Regions from separate parts of the Homo sapiens genome. Here regions 2, 3 and 4 are each linked to region 1. Evidence: promoter capture Hi-C in 16 types of primary human blood cells and fetal thymus (Javierre and others, 2016). All regions are on one chromosome and are shown on one strand. Each heading gives the region's core, a stretch centred on a gene start or on the middle of the fragment in contact. The rest is flanking DNA. Distances are from core to core; before and after follow the strand shown.

Evidence for each region. The method cuts DNA at HindIII sites, captures the fragments that hold promoters and counts their contacts. A CHiCAGO score of 5 or more calls a contact.
Region 2: a contact is called between a fragment that was not itself captured here and the fragment with the promoter of CMPK2 in region 1, in 1 of 17 cell types (non-activated CD4 T cells). The highest score is 5.1, in non-activated CD4 T cells.
Region 3: a fragment that was not itself captured here is called in contact with the fragment with the promoter of CMPK2 in region 1 in 10 of 17 cell types (activated CD4 T cells, non-activated CD4 T cells, fetal thymus and 7 more); the score reaches 17.5 in activated CD4 T cells.
Region 4: a contact is called between a fragment that was not itself captured here and the fragment with the promoter of CMPK2 in region 1, in 4 of 17 cell types (erythroblasts, activated CD4 T cells, non-activated CD4 T cells and 1 more). The highest score is 9.5, in erythroblasts.

Annotation. Positions count from the first base shown.
Region 1 is chr2:6,864,482-6,867,500 of GRCh38, forward strand. CMPK2 (cytidine/uridine monophosphate kinase 2) reads right to left here and starts at 1,426. Exons shown (of 5, transcript NM_207315.4): 1 at 541-1,426. The coding sequence starts at 1,215. It also overlaps a transcript of RSAD2 not described here. RefSeq lists silencers at 737-1,176, 1,417-1,686 and an enhancer at 1,197-1,416. The HindIII fragment of the contact is 2,067 bases long and covers 1-1,953 here.
Region 2 is chr2:7,074,394-7,077,412 of GRCh38, forward strand. LOC101929452 (a long non-coding RNA gene) reads right to left here. Exons shown (of 3, transcript NR_110252.1): 2 at 2,489-2,653. It also overlaps a transcript of RNF144A not described here. Among named protein-coding and RNA genes, the nearest start is that of GRASLND, 160 kb to the left of the region's middle. The HindIII fragment of the contact is 2,520 bases long and covers 259-2,778 here.
Region 3 is chr2:7,055,151-7,058,169 of GRCh38, forward strand. It overlaps a transcript of RNF144A not described here. Among named protein-coding and RNA genes, the nearest start is that of GRASLND, 140 kb to the left of the region's middle. The HindIII fragment of the contact is 2,674 bases long and covers 87-2,760 here.
Region 4 is chr2:7,015,624-7,018,642 of GRCh38, forward strand. All of the region lies in intron 5 of RNF144A (ring finger protein 144A), which reads left to right. Among named protein-coding and RNA genes, the nearest start is that of GRASLND, 98 kb to the left of the region's middle. RefSeq lists an enhancer at 1,545-2,044. The HindIII fragment of the contact is 6,199 bases long and covers 1-3,019 here.

The sequences.
Region 1 (3,019 bases), core at 176-2,675:
ACCTGCTGTGAGTCAGATGTTTCCTTAATCAGGACAACATCGCAAGATGGGAATTGTACATGTCAAAGGGCAAAACTTAGAGTAGTTGAGTAACCTGCACAAGGTTCATGGCCAGTCGGTAGGTAAACACTATTTAAGTCTAAATTTCTTAAACCCCCTAAACTCATGCATTTTCTTTTTCACCCCAAGATCCTTGAATGGTGATCATCAGCAAATAAAATTACTTCCCAGCTGACATTATTTTCCCTCACTCCCGGCAGCCCCTTTACTCCCTCTGTACTGCTGTTGGGATGCTTTTACAGCAAGCATCGCGTGGCTTGGTGTAGGTCTATGTTCCACGTCAGGTTGGAAGATCCTTGCAAACAAGAATCTTAAAAGAGTTGCCTGGCATACAGGACACCTTCCCTACCTGATTTGTGAACGGAAATAAACAAACCACCCAGGCAAGAACCGGCTCTACAGACCAGCCTCTTGGTCCAGTTCTCTGGTCTGAAGGGTTCAGATGCCACGCTGGGAGCTGGAAGCGGACAGAACTCTTACCTCCTCCAAAACGGCCCGGGCGGCTTCCCGGTCCGGGAAGACCACGGAACTGGGCAAGTCTGGCACCACCGGGTGCAGCGGGGGCTCCGGGACGGGCACGACCTGTGCGCAGCCCACCTGCAGCCGCCTGCCGTCTTGCACCTCCCAGAGGCGCTGCCACAGCTGGCCGCGCGGGTCGGCCTCGAACTCGCCCAAGTGCGGGCGTGGTGCCTCCTGACAGGCGCCCAGCAGCTCGAGCAGCGCTTGCCGGGTGTCAGGGTCATCCAGGGGGTCGCGCAGCAGGAAGCCTTGCTGTGCGCCGCCGGCCTGGCCGCCCGGGCAGTAGCAGAGCAGCCTGAGCAGCTGGCACCGCTGGAAGGGGCCGCGGCGCAGCTGGTGCAGCAGGCGCTGGTGCAGCCGCGCCGCCCGGACCCGGGCCCCGCAGCCGGCGTCCGGGGTCACGGGCACGCACAGCGAGTAGCTGCGCTCCGGGGGCCCCAGCAGCGCCGCCAGGCGGGGGTCGGGGGCGTCTGCGTCGCCGGGGGCGTCGGCGCCTAGGGCGAAGTGAGCCAGGGTGCAGTCGGGAAGCTCCAGGACGAAGCGGCGCGGCGGAGCCATGGCCCCAGCGCAGACCCCGCGCCGCCCGAGCAGCGGCCCCGACAGTGGCCCGCGCAGGAGCCGGCGGGCGAAGGCCATGGGCGCCTCAGCGACGCCGCCCTCGGCCCCGCCTCGGAAACGAAACCTGGCGGGAGCCAGGCGCCGGCGGGAAACGAAACCCGGAGGGAGCCAGGCGCCAGCGGGAAACGAAAGCGAAGCGTTGCGGGGAAACGAAAGCCGGAGGCCCAGGCGGGGCAGGAGCCCTGGGGCTGGGGCGCCCTTCCGGCCTCTCCTCCTCGCCGCGAGATGTGCGCGATAAACGGCCGGCGCTCGGGAGCAGACGCTTGGCCCCGGGGCCCCAGGTGCGCGGCTCCGCGGGCCTGCGCGGTCCCCAGGCGCCGGCTCCCGGGGCTGACACCGAATGAGGCCCCGCGCCGTCGGCCCCAAGGTAGCTCCGTGTGCGTTCTGCGGGTGGCTGGCGGCCCCGACCCTGGTTTGAGTTCCTCCTCTGCGGCTTATGCCGGGTGCATGGAGGGGGGCGGGGGTGCACGCGCGAGGGACAGAGAAGTCCCTTCCCGGTGTAACGGGCTCTTCAACGCCCACTTGCAGGCGCACTACTGCCCTTGGATGACTGACCAGGCCCTGCAGACCATGGGCTCCCTCCCCGACCTCAACTCCTAGCTCTGACCACGCGTCCCCGCCCCTCTAATCCTGCAGAGCTGCTTTCCTGCGGGAACAGGGCGCAGTTCTGGCTCTTCCCTCTCCTGTATCTTATCTCACCTGTGCACTCACTCACCTGTGCACACACTCACCTTTGCACACACTCACCTGTGCACAAGCTTTTCCCTCTTCTTGGAATTGCCCTCTCCCTTTTGCTGACTCTCCAACTGGGAAGTGTCGCCCAGATTGGCACCTCGAAATCGCCTTTCTTCCACCAAATTGAAGTTTCCTGCACTAAGGTGAAGTGTGTCAGGATAGCACCCTCTGCCTGCCACAGTCCAGCATCAGCACTGTTGCTGCCTAACAGTGTAACTGCCTAACAGTGTAACAGTGTTTGCGCAGTTATTTGGATATTTTATTCTGTGTTTACTCATTAACTGATGCCTTTTAAAAATGATGTCAAGCAAACCAAAAACAAACAAAAAGATAATATTCTCCAGGGAAACTCTCTCAAAAAAATAGAATTGAGACGAAGATTGAAAACATTAGATGAGCTGAAAGCAGTTTTTTTTTTATGTCTTAATAGTATTGGACTTAAACTTGGGATTATATTTAATTCTGAAAAAAAAAGTCTTAACAAACGTGAAATATAGATAGGTGGTTGGAGTGTGGGTTAATAGGCTAAGAAGAAAGAAGAATTAGGAGTTTAAAATTTTTTAGCTCTTTGAGAATAGAATAGTTTTTATTCTTTCTCAGGAATTTCACTTTTGGACATTTAGCATGTACCGGTGGTTTCACGTGTATGTAGTATATGGAAGTAAGAGTCTTCTAGTTACTCCCTTTTCTTCTCTAAGACAGTACTGCATCCTCAAGCCTGCTTGACCTTTTCCCTATGCCATCCACCTCTCTGGATGTATTAGTCTATCCTGGCTGCCATAACAAAATACCACGGACTGGGCCGCCTAAACAATAGAAAATTTGTTTTCTCAAAGTTCAGGTGGCCAGAGAAGCTGGAGATCAAGTTGCCAGCAGGGTTTGCTTTTTCTGAGGCCTCTCTTTCTAGCGTGCAGACCGCCTCCTTCTCTCTGTGTTCTCACGGGACCTTTCCTTTGTGCTTGCATCCTTGGCGTCTCCTTGAAGTTCCAAATTTCCTCTTCTGGGAAGGACACCAGTCAGATTGGGTTAGGGCCCATCATAATGTTCTCATTTTAATGTAATCACCTATTGAAAGCCTTATTTTGAA
Region 2 (3,019 bases), core at 269-2,768, 210 kb after region 1:
CCAAATGTAATCTTAATATACAATCATGCAAATTAAGTTATGGATTTCTAGTTGACACATGTTATTTTTGTAGATATTTGAAAAAACATTCAATTGTACTTACAGCTTTTAAAAATTTTGTGTTGTCAATAATTTGTTGTAGTTGTCTTAAATATTTTCCTGGGCCCTTAAAAGATCTATGCACTTAGTACTCCTCTTTATTGTATAAAGAATTAAGTTAGTTAAAACTCATATGTCTGTCCTTTCATCTGGGTTATAAGCTTTGTGGGGAAGAAACATCTGTGTCTATGTCACTCCTAGAGTCCCCACACTGAGCAGAGTACCTGAAACATAGGAGGTGAACAATGAGTATTTCTAGGTGGAAGAAGAGAAAGGAAGAAAAAAAGGAAGGAAGGAAGGAAAAAAGGATGGAAGAAAGGAAGGAGAGAAGGGAAGAAAGAAGGAGGGGGGGAAGGAAGGAATCCCTGTATCTTTAGAATTTATTTGAACGAGATGGGATTGAGTGATCAAAGAATGACATGGAAGAGGAGGTTCTCAATTTTTTTCTATAGCATGACTTGAAAATTTTTAAGTGTAAGAATTATTAGTAAAAGTTTTATTTCTGTTGCAAATACTTGCATTCCAGGTACAATTGCTACTAACCTTCCCAAAACTTTTTTTATACCCATGGATTCTACAGATTAGAAGTTGGGCAAGGCACAGTGTGGATGGTGGATGGCTCACCTCTGCTCCATGACATCTGCAGCCCCAGATGGGAATAATAAAATGTTGGGAAGACATCTTTCCTCTTCTACCCCACTCTCCCACCAGAATCATCAGGAGGCATCTTTATTTCTATCTCATGATTAATGGCAGCTGGGGCCTCAGCTGGGCTATCAGCTGGAACATCCCCCCCCCCACACAGTGTTCTCTTCTCATGGGCCAGTTTGAGCTTCCTCCCAGCATGATGGGCTCCAGGTGAATAAGGCTAAAGTGTTAGCATTTTTATGACACAGTGCTATGGATTGAACATCTCTCCCAAAATTTCGTGTGTTGGAAACTTAATCTCTAAATCTCTAAATTTATATGTTGATGGTGTTTGGAAGTGGGGTTTTAAAGAGGCAATTAGAAATAGATAAGGTCATCAGGGCCCTCATGATGCAACTGGTGGCTTTATAAGAAGAGGAAGAAAGACCTTAGATAGCACATTTGCTTTTTTAGTGATTTGATGCCTCCTGCCGTGTCATGACAAAGCAGAAAGGTTCTCACCAGATGCAGCCACCTGATCTTGGACTTTTCAGCCTCCAGAACTGTGAGTAAAATTACCTCTATTTTTTATAAATTACCCAGTCTCAGGTGTTCTATATGGCAACAGAAAATGGATTAAGACATTCAGCCTTGAAAGACACATGGCATCACTTCCACTATATGCTACTGACCAAGCCAGTTGCAAAGGTTGCTCAAGTCTAAGGGGAAGGGGGGACATGTGAAACAGGTCATATTGTTGAGGCCTCCTTGGAAAGCGTAATCTGCCATTACTGGTTCACCCTGTAAAATGTGTTTCTTACTGTACTTTGTGGTCAAAAAAGTTTGAAAAATCTCTGCTCCTTATTGTGTATGTTGTGAATAACTATAATTATTGCATCATGCTGTTTTGATGAACATTTGTTTCTAATTTTTCTTAATTGCAAAATCAATGCTGCATTGAGCCTCCCTGTGTTTCTGTATGCACATGGAGCAGTTTCCTGGATGTCCATGCTTAAAACTCCAAGCCCTTTCCCTAGGGCTTGCTGAGGGGAAGATGGCCTGTGTGGTTGACAGTTTTTTTCTAATATTAAATATGTGTTACTGTATAAGAAATTCATTGTCAATATAATTGATTTCTATTTTGTACTAAAATGATACTGCAATTTCTTACTTTACTAGAAATTATTTGTAAATATAGCTTGGTTGTTTTCCCATTTTTGGATTATAAATGATTCTGTTGCCACACTATATTTTTTGCTAGCCTGATTGCTACCTTAGGAGTTTCACGGAAAGCGAATAGATGGTTCAAAGGGGACCAAAAACACTTTAAAGATTCCTGGTACATATTGCCAATCAATAGGATGCTATTTCAGCTAGACTGTGGAGATGAAACAAAACCTTTTGAAACCCCATTAGTGTGGTTATACTAAGTCCTCCTGAATATTATTAGAGAAAATTTAAAGTAGCACAAGGTAAGCAATTATCAGAAGAATAACTCCCAGTTAGTTCATAAGTCAGTTTCTGAACCACTTGGCACACCAGTGGGTGCATACAACCCTGTATACAGTTCATGCAGGGAGGCAGGGGGGTCTGTAGCATCACCCATCCTAACACATACATCTCAGGAGTTATTGTGAATTAGCAACAGTTCATTGGCCATGGATGTCCTGTGGGACATGCTGTGGGGAAGCCCATCCTGCAGGGGTGCCTGTAGCTAGTGCCAGTCATGGTTTATGACAGCAGAATAACTCATATACAATACCTGGCTTTGAGGTAGTGCCTTCCTCCTCAGTAAAATCTTGCAAAATTTGACTCTTTCTTGCTTACAGCATCTGTTCAGTTCAGTTCAGCACTCAGTGTGTGCCAGCCCCTGTGCTGGAAATATAGTTGTAGACTGTTTTCTGGGTTCATTCCTGCGGAAGCTGGTCTAGAAGACAGAGAAAGATGGGTGAGCAAATGCTTAGAACGCAATAGGATAGTAATGATAAAGAGACATGCAAACTAATGCTGAATGGTTTCATCACCCTGTGAATAAGAAGTTATAATAGAATAAGCTTCTTATGGTAAGTATAATGGTGGTGGAGGGACAGAATTTTCCCAGAGGAGCCAATGTTTAAACTGAATCGTGAAAGATAAAGTATTTACTGATCAGACAAAAGAATGAAGGTGATTACAGGCAGAGACAATTTTCCAACAAATGTACTTTGTAAATTAATTGGGAAATGACCTGGCACTTATGAGGAACCCCCACCTGTTCCTTGGAGAAAAAGGAGCAGAAAGGTAGACCAGAACT
Region 3 (3,019 bases), core at 174-2,673, 190 kb after region 1:
TCAGCCTGCTTTGTGCCTTCTCTTCTCTTCTAAGCTTTGCAAATGATGGAATTATTCAATCCTGAGCCTTGTAGCTCTTCTCAGTAAGCTTTCTTTTCCAGGCAATGCCCCCAACCTACCCAGCTGAAACTGTTTCTCTGAGCTGCAGTTTCACACACTGAATGGTTCATGCTCAGTATTGCATCTTGATTTGGTCTCAAAAGTTCTTAAAATTACACCTGCTCCCAAATTAATGTTTGAAACCATTATACCACCTTTAGCCTACTCCTTCCCTGCAGCTCCATAACTTAGTACTGACACCGCCATCCTCTCCACTGTTCCTTCTCAAAACCATTCTTGACACTGACCTCTTTAGCACTCACACATCTAATCTTTCACTAAGTTTTCAATTTTACCCCTAAATACCTCCCCAGCATGTTTATATCTTACCATTTGCATGGCCAGGAGAGTCTAAGCAAAGCCATTACCCACTCCTGTGTAGGCTACTGCACAGGTGAGTCTGAAACCCCAGCAGGTACCATTTATTAAGTCTGCACTTTCCCAGACCAAACATTCACAGTTCCAAATTTCATTCATGCCTATGATTCTAAGTTGATTCTCAGGAATTAAACTGAAAATCCCAGGTTTTTTCTTACCAGTGGAGAATGGAGTTCACAAAAAGCATCCACGGAGCAAAACTAGCACTGTCCTGTGCAGGTCTCTAGGACTTTCCTCAGAGCAAGTGACTTACCTTGTCACTTGCTTCCTCTCATTGTTTAGACCTTCCTACCCAGATGCTGGGCGAGCATGCACACTCTGTAACCTACTGACGTCTAGTGAGGGTCCTTATGGAGCCTCTGCTCTGCCCAGTAACTAGTCAGAAGACTAGGTAAAGGCTTTATTTCCTTCCCCAGCCCTAGCCCAGTGGTTTGCTGGGAATTTCTCACCCATAAAACTGATTTTAGCATTAGAGTTAATGACTTTATTTCTCTGTGGTCTTGGTTCTCTTACAAATTGGGAAGCCTATAAAATGCACTAGCCAGGTGGAGGAAAGCCTCATGGTGGCCGTTCTGATCTTACTATACCCTTTCTGACATGCTCACTGTTGGTCTCCTTCGAAGGTCTCTCTATGCCAGACTGAACTTGCTTCCTGTCATCCCACACCCATGGTAAGATGTGCCCTCTGTGCTTCCCTTACAACCTAACTTCTCCCATGCTACCATCAATTTCTCAGGCAACTGTGAACCTCCCTCCTTATCTTGGGACATGTCTCTCCTCTGCCACTTATGACTGTTATAGACTGAATTGTGTCATTCCTCCATCCCCCCAAATTCATATGTCAATGCACTGATTTATCTTGAGTACTTCAGCCACACACCAACCATCCCTCCTCAGCCCACCCACCATTCTCAATCTGAGGGTATCTTGGCTCTTAACTCTCTTCTAGGTCATTCCAGTTATGGTTCCTGCAGCACTGGCCCCATTCCACTTTTCGGGTTTTCAATATCCTCCCAATGGCATTTCCTGCTGCTGCCCTCAAGTGTTCCCTCCCCTGTGTTAGGGAATCCCCACTACACATTTTGTTCAGTCCTTGGGGCCCACACTTGATTCAAATTCCATGGTCTCCCCCCCAGTTGTGGCCTTCTCTTCTCTTGCCTCAATACCTACTTTGGAGGCATCTCCTTGTGGCTTCCTTGTTTGTGTATCTCATGCGCCTGCTTCCATTGCAGTGAGGACAATATTAAATATGTGCACCAAAAACTCCCCGGCAGTCTGTCTGCCTGGAACAGCATTTCAGCCCCTCACCTTGGGGCTCTTAGTTCTTTGGAGCCTCCATCTGCTGAGGACCCTGACGTTCCTTGCCAGGGTCTGCTGGATCTCACCCCCAGGGGGTCCTGCCAGTCTGGTGTTTATCAGAGAAACTGCCCATACATCAACAGGAGGTGAGAAGGGATGCTTATGGGGACTATTATACAGCTTTAGTAGTGGAAAATTAGAGGTTTAAAGCTGTCATGCTCTGTCTCTGTGCCATACAGACCTTTCTATATACCCTATACAACAGATTGAAACAATGAATTGCATTGTACTTATTTACAATAGATCCTAAGTTATTGATGATTAACCTGTTTTTCTAAGTAAAGTCTAGCCCAGCTCTATTGCAGCACCTGGTACCTCTTAGAGGCTCAATAAATACCTCCTGAGTGAGCGCTCTGTGTTCCATGCCAGATGCAAGGTTTAGGGACAGCTTAATGAGGAAGGACTTTCTAATCTGGAGGAAATTGGGGAGTCCCTTGGCAAGGGTGTAGCAGAGGCAGTAAGATGTTAGACAGTCAGGAGACCTGGGATGTCATCCTCAATTCATTTGCTAGCTAGATGCACTTGGAAATGCACTCCCTTCTCTGATTCTCAAGTTTTTTTAGTTTGCCAAATATTAAAGTAACTCCCATCTGATGGCTCTCTTGGATGGTATAAGAATAATAGATGAGGAAGCTACTATTCACCTTTCATGCAGGAGAGAGGTTCCATTCATCATGTGGAGATTGGAGTTAAGATCTTACAATGCCTAACAATCCTGGAATTATCAAATTCTAGTTGCTGTGCATCAAATTGAATACATTTTAGATAGCCATACCATCATCATAATTGCTTGGAGTGAATAGATAAAAATTGAAAAAAATCTTGGTATATTTTCTCATAGAAATCTGCCCAGGGATCAAATGTTAAGCAGAGATTTATTAGTGGACACAATGTAGTCAGCAAAGAGGCAGTAGTATTTTGAGAAGCTTCCTGGAGGAAGAGGAACTGGAACTAGGTGTTGAAGGGATGTTCAGGTTTAAACGATGGAGTAGAAGTGAAGAAGTTAATGAATATAGCACTTCTGACATGTGCCAGGTGCTTAATGTCATTTAATCCTCACAACATGAAAGAGGCAAAGATAACTATCTTCTTTTTAATGTAAGTACTGACAGTGTGCCAGGCAACAGATAAGTCAATATGATACCTGAGATAGCTGCCAGGGTAACACAGAGCTCACTCTGAG
Region 4 (3,019 bases), core at 161-2,660, 150 kb after region 1:
ATACAATGAAACTGTAAAGAGTCTGTGGACTCTCTTTGGCTTTGTTTTCATATCTATTCTGGGCCCCAGGCTTGTCTGGTAAAGAGCAGAGTGACAGATGTGTGCAGGCGACACTCCATATGCAGAACATCATTGTGTGGACCTTGCAGGCGGATTCTGAGTTTGGATTGCTGGCATCTGCTCTCCCTCTCCCTGCACTGATTCTCGGGTTCTTGACCTGAGCAGGGTCTCACCACTGAGACACAGCCCTGGAGGGTGGGCTTACATGAAAACATGGCCGGATGGGGAGTGGACGGCAGAGGAGACCAGAGGACAATATCCAGAGACTCCCAGTTTAGCTGCATGCAGAGACCTGTTGTTTGTATATTTTTGCTTTCTAAAAGAAATGCTAGAGATAGCTGGGCCCAGTGGCATGTACCTATAGTCTCAACTACTCAGGAGTTCAAGTCCAGCCTGGGCAACATATTGAGACCCCGTCTCTAAAAAAAAAAAAAAAAAAGAAAGAAAAAGAAAAAAATATGTAGCCCACTTAAAAAAAAACTCAAACAGCATTTTTCATGGCATTGACATTTGTTTTCAAGAGTGTGTTTATTAAAGTGTCGTATATCATTTGCTTTGGGGCAGTTTATAGCTTTAATATAATGCCATTTGGTACAAAAGTCAGTACGTAGGGCAATAAAATTGATTAATTTAGACTTCTGAGACTTTCAGGCTCTTCTGAGAATATTTTCCAGAGAGAATCTTGACAGAAACTGGCTGTTGTTTGCGTTACAAGAATATGAACTTTCTATGACATTGAATTTAATTTAAAAATGCAGCTGGGTACATTTTTCAACCTAATAATTTTAACTGTTATTTCTTTAGTACTTTGGCTTAGTCAGAAAATCTTTTTTCCTTTTGCATAAACATGAAGCCAACTTGGCTTCTGTTAAAAAAAAAAAATCTCTCAAGCCTCTCCCTTTAAAGCATTTTACTAACATTATGTTCAAAGTTTTTTTTTTTTTAAGTATTCAGACTTCATACTATAAAAGACCTGTCTAGATAAAACGTTAGAATGTCAGAGCTAAAATATAGTTATGGATTATAGCCAGCACCTTGAAAGAGTTTGGAGACAAGATCAGAAAGCAAATTTTGACTGTCTCTATGGCTCTAAAATCTAGTCAAGTAGAGGACGCCCTGGAAGAAAACTGAGACAGTTCAATGATTTTCTGAAAACATTGAGTTACCAGAAAGTTCTATGGTTAGGTCATGTTGCGCACACTGTCTGCACTTAGTCTTAGAATGTCTCCTCTGATATAACAGCCTTGGTTTTAGCGTCAATGTCTTCCCCTTCTGGAGCTCTGGGGCAAGCAGGAAGCCAGGGAAGGGGGCCAGGAAGCTGAGTTTTCATTCTGAACACCTCCTCACAACTGGCTCACTCCAGAGTCTGGGTAGGGACAGATTCTTGAGCGAGGGGGTGTGGATGCCTCTTGCTGCGTGGACCCCTCTCTCATGCTACACTCGACGCCCGTGGCCCTCTGAGACCCAGCGGTGCTGTGCTAAGGGCGTTGCTGTGCACCTGCCTCTATCTGGAGGCTCAGCCCTCCCAGAGACAGGACTGTGGGTCCTCATGCCTTCGTCCCATGCCAGCCCAGTGCCTGGCCAAGTGAATGCTGATGTCAGATGTCAACCGTGTATTGTTTTTTTTTTTGTTCTTTGTTTTTTTTTTTTAAAGTAAAGCTCAGAGAGATTAAATAATACGATGGGTTATCCACCTGTAATCAGGCCTGACTAGAGCCGACTCCTGAAAATGTTGCCATCTCACAGCAGGATCAAACCCACCATCCCAGCCCTGCACCAGGCACCAGCCCGCCGGGCAGGGTAGTAAGTGCAGGGATGAGAGGGGATGCTGGGTGCATCGTTCTCTGTCATGTACTTCTGAAAGGAAACTGTTTTAAAAGGAAAGCCACCTTTTTAAAAAGTTTTATGCATTTTTAAGCAGGGAGTTCTTAAGAGACCTGCTTCATTAATCTGCCATGAATACGCCTCTGGGAGAGAAGAGTTAACATTAGTTTCCTCTAGTGTGCCAAAAAGCATATCATTTGCTTTGTTTGAAAATATGTCTCATACACACACGTGTGTAGATTGGGGAGGATAATGCAGAATGTTAATAGACATCTACGCCTCAGCCTGGGGCCATGTTCACAGGGTGTGACATGCCCCGGCAGCACAGGAAGGACATTTGCAGTCTGCAGTCAGAGCGGCCGTTTGTCCCTGACCTTTTCGATAGGGAATCTCTCCATGTGAGGACAGGCAGTGCCGTGTCACAGCTATATGAGGACAAAACTAATAAGATTTAAATCGTTCCCATGGAAACCTTAGCCAGGTCTCCCCTGTGTGCTATCCTGGGGGGCCTTTTGTGATGGGGATGCTTAATAGCATCCCCCACTGTTGAGCCAGGAGGGTGGACAGGAGGTGGTGCATGACAAATCACGTGCATGAAGAGACCGAGACCCAGCTTTGGGATGTCTGCTCCTTGCTGATGTCAGAAGCTCCTACTGCACAGGAGAGGTGGGGACAGCAGTGAGACGGAAGGGTCCCTAGCAGGCAGCGCTGCCCTTCTGGATCTAGCCTCAGAGCTATATCGGGAGGAGAGCAAAGAGCGGGTGAGGATTTCTCTTCCCGCGCAGCGTGTTGTTTAGTGCACACAGCACTTGCACCCTCCCGCAGGGCTGGGCAGACATGGGCCTCCTATCTCATCAGGGACAAAGCTGGGCTCACCCCACAGCACTCACAGAGGGCAGGCAGAGAGTTGTCGGAGGCATCGCGGGGACGGGATGGGAGCATGACCCAGGCCAGCTGCCTTTAGCCTTTGGCGTTTCCTCCTCACTGCTCAGCGTGGCGCTCAGTGCCCCAGGCTGGCATGTGCACCCCCTCCTTGCTTTGCTGTGACTGTCAGCTCAGGGGAGCCCCAGGCATCTGCCCCCACACATGTGACCCACAGACAACAACTGCGTTTTCTCAAAAAGCCATTTTGTCA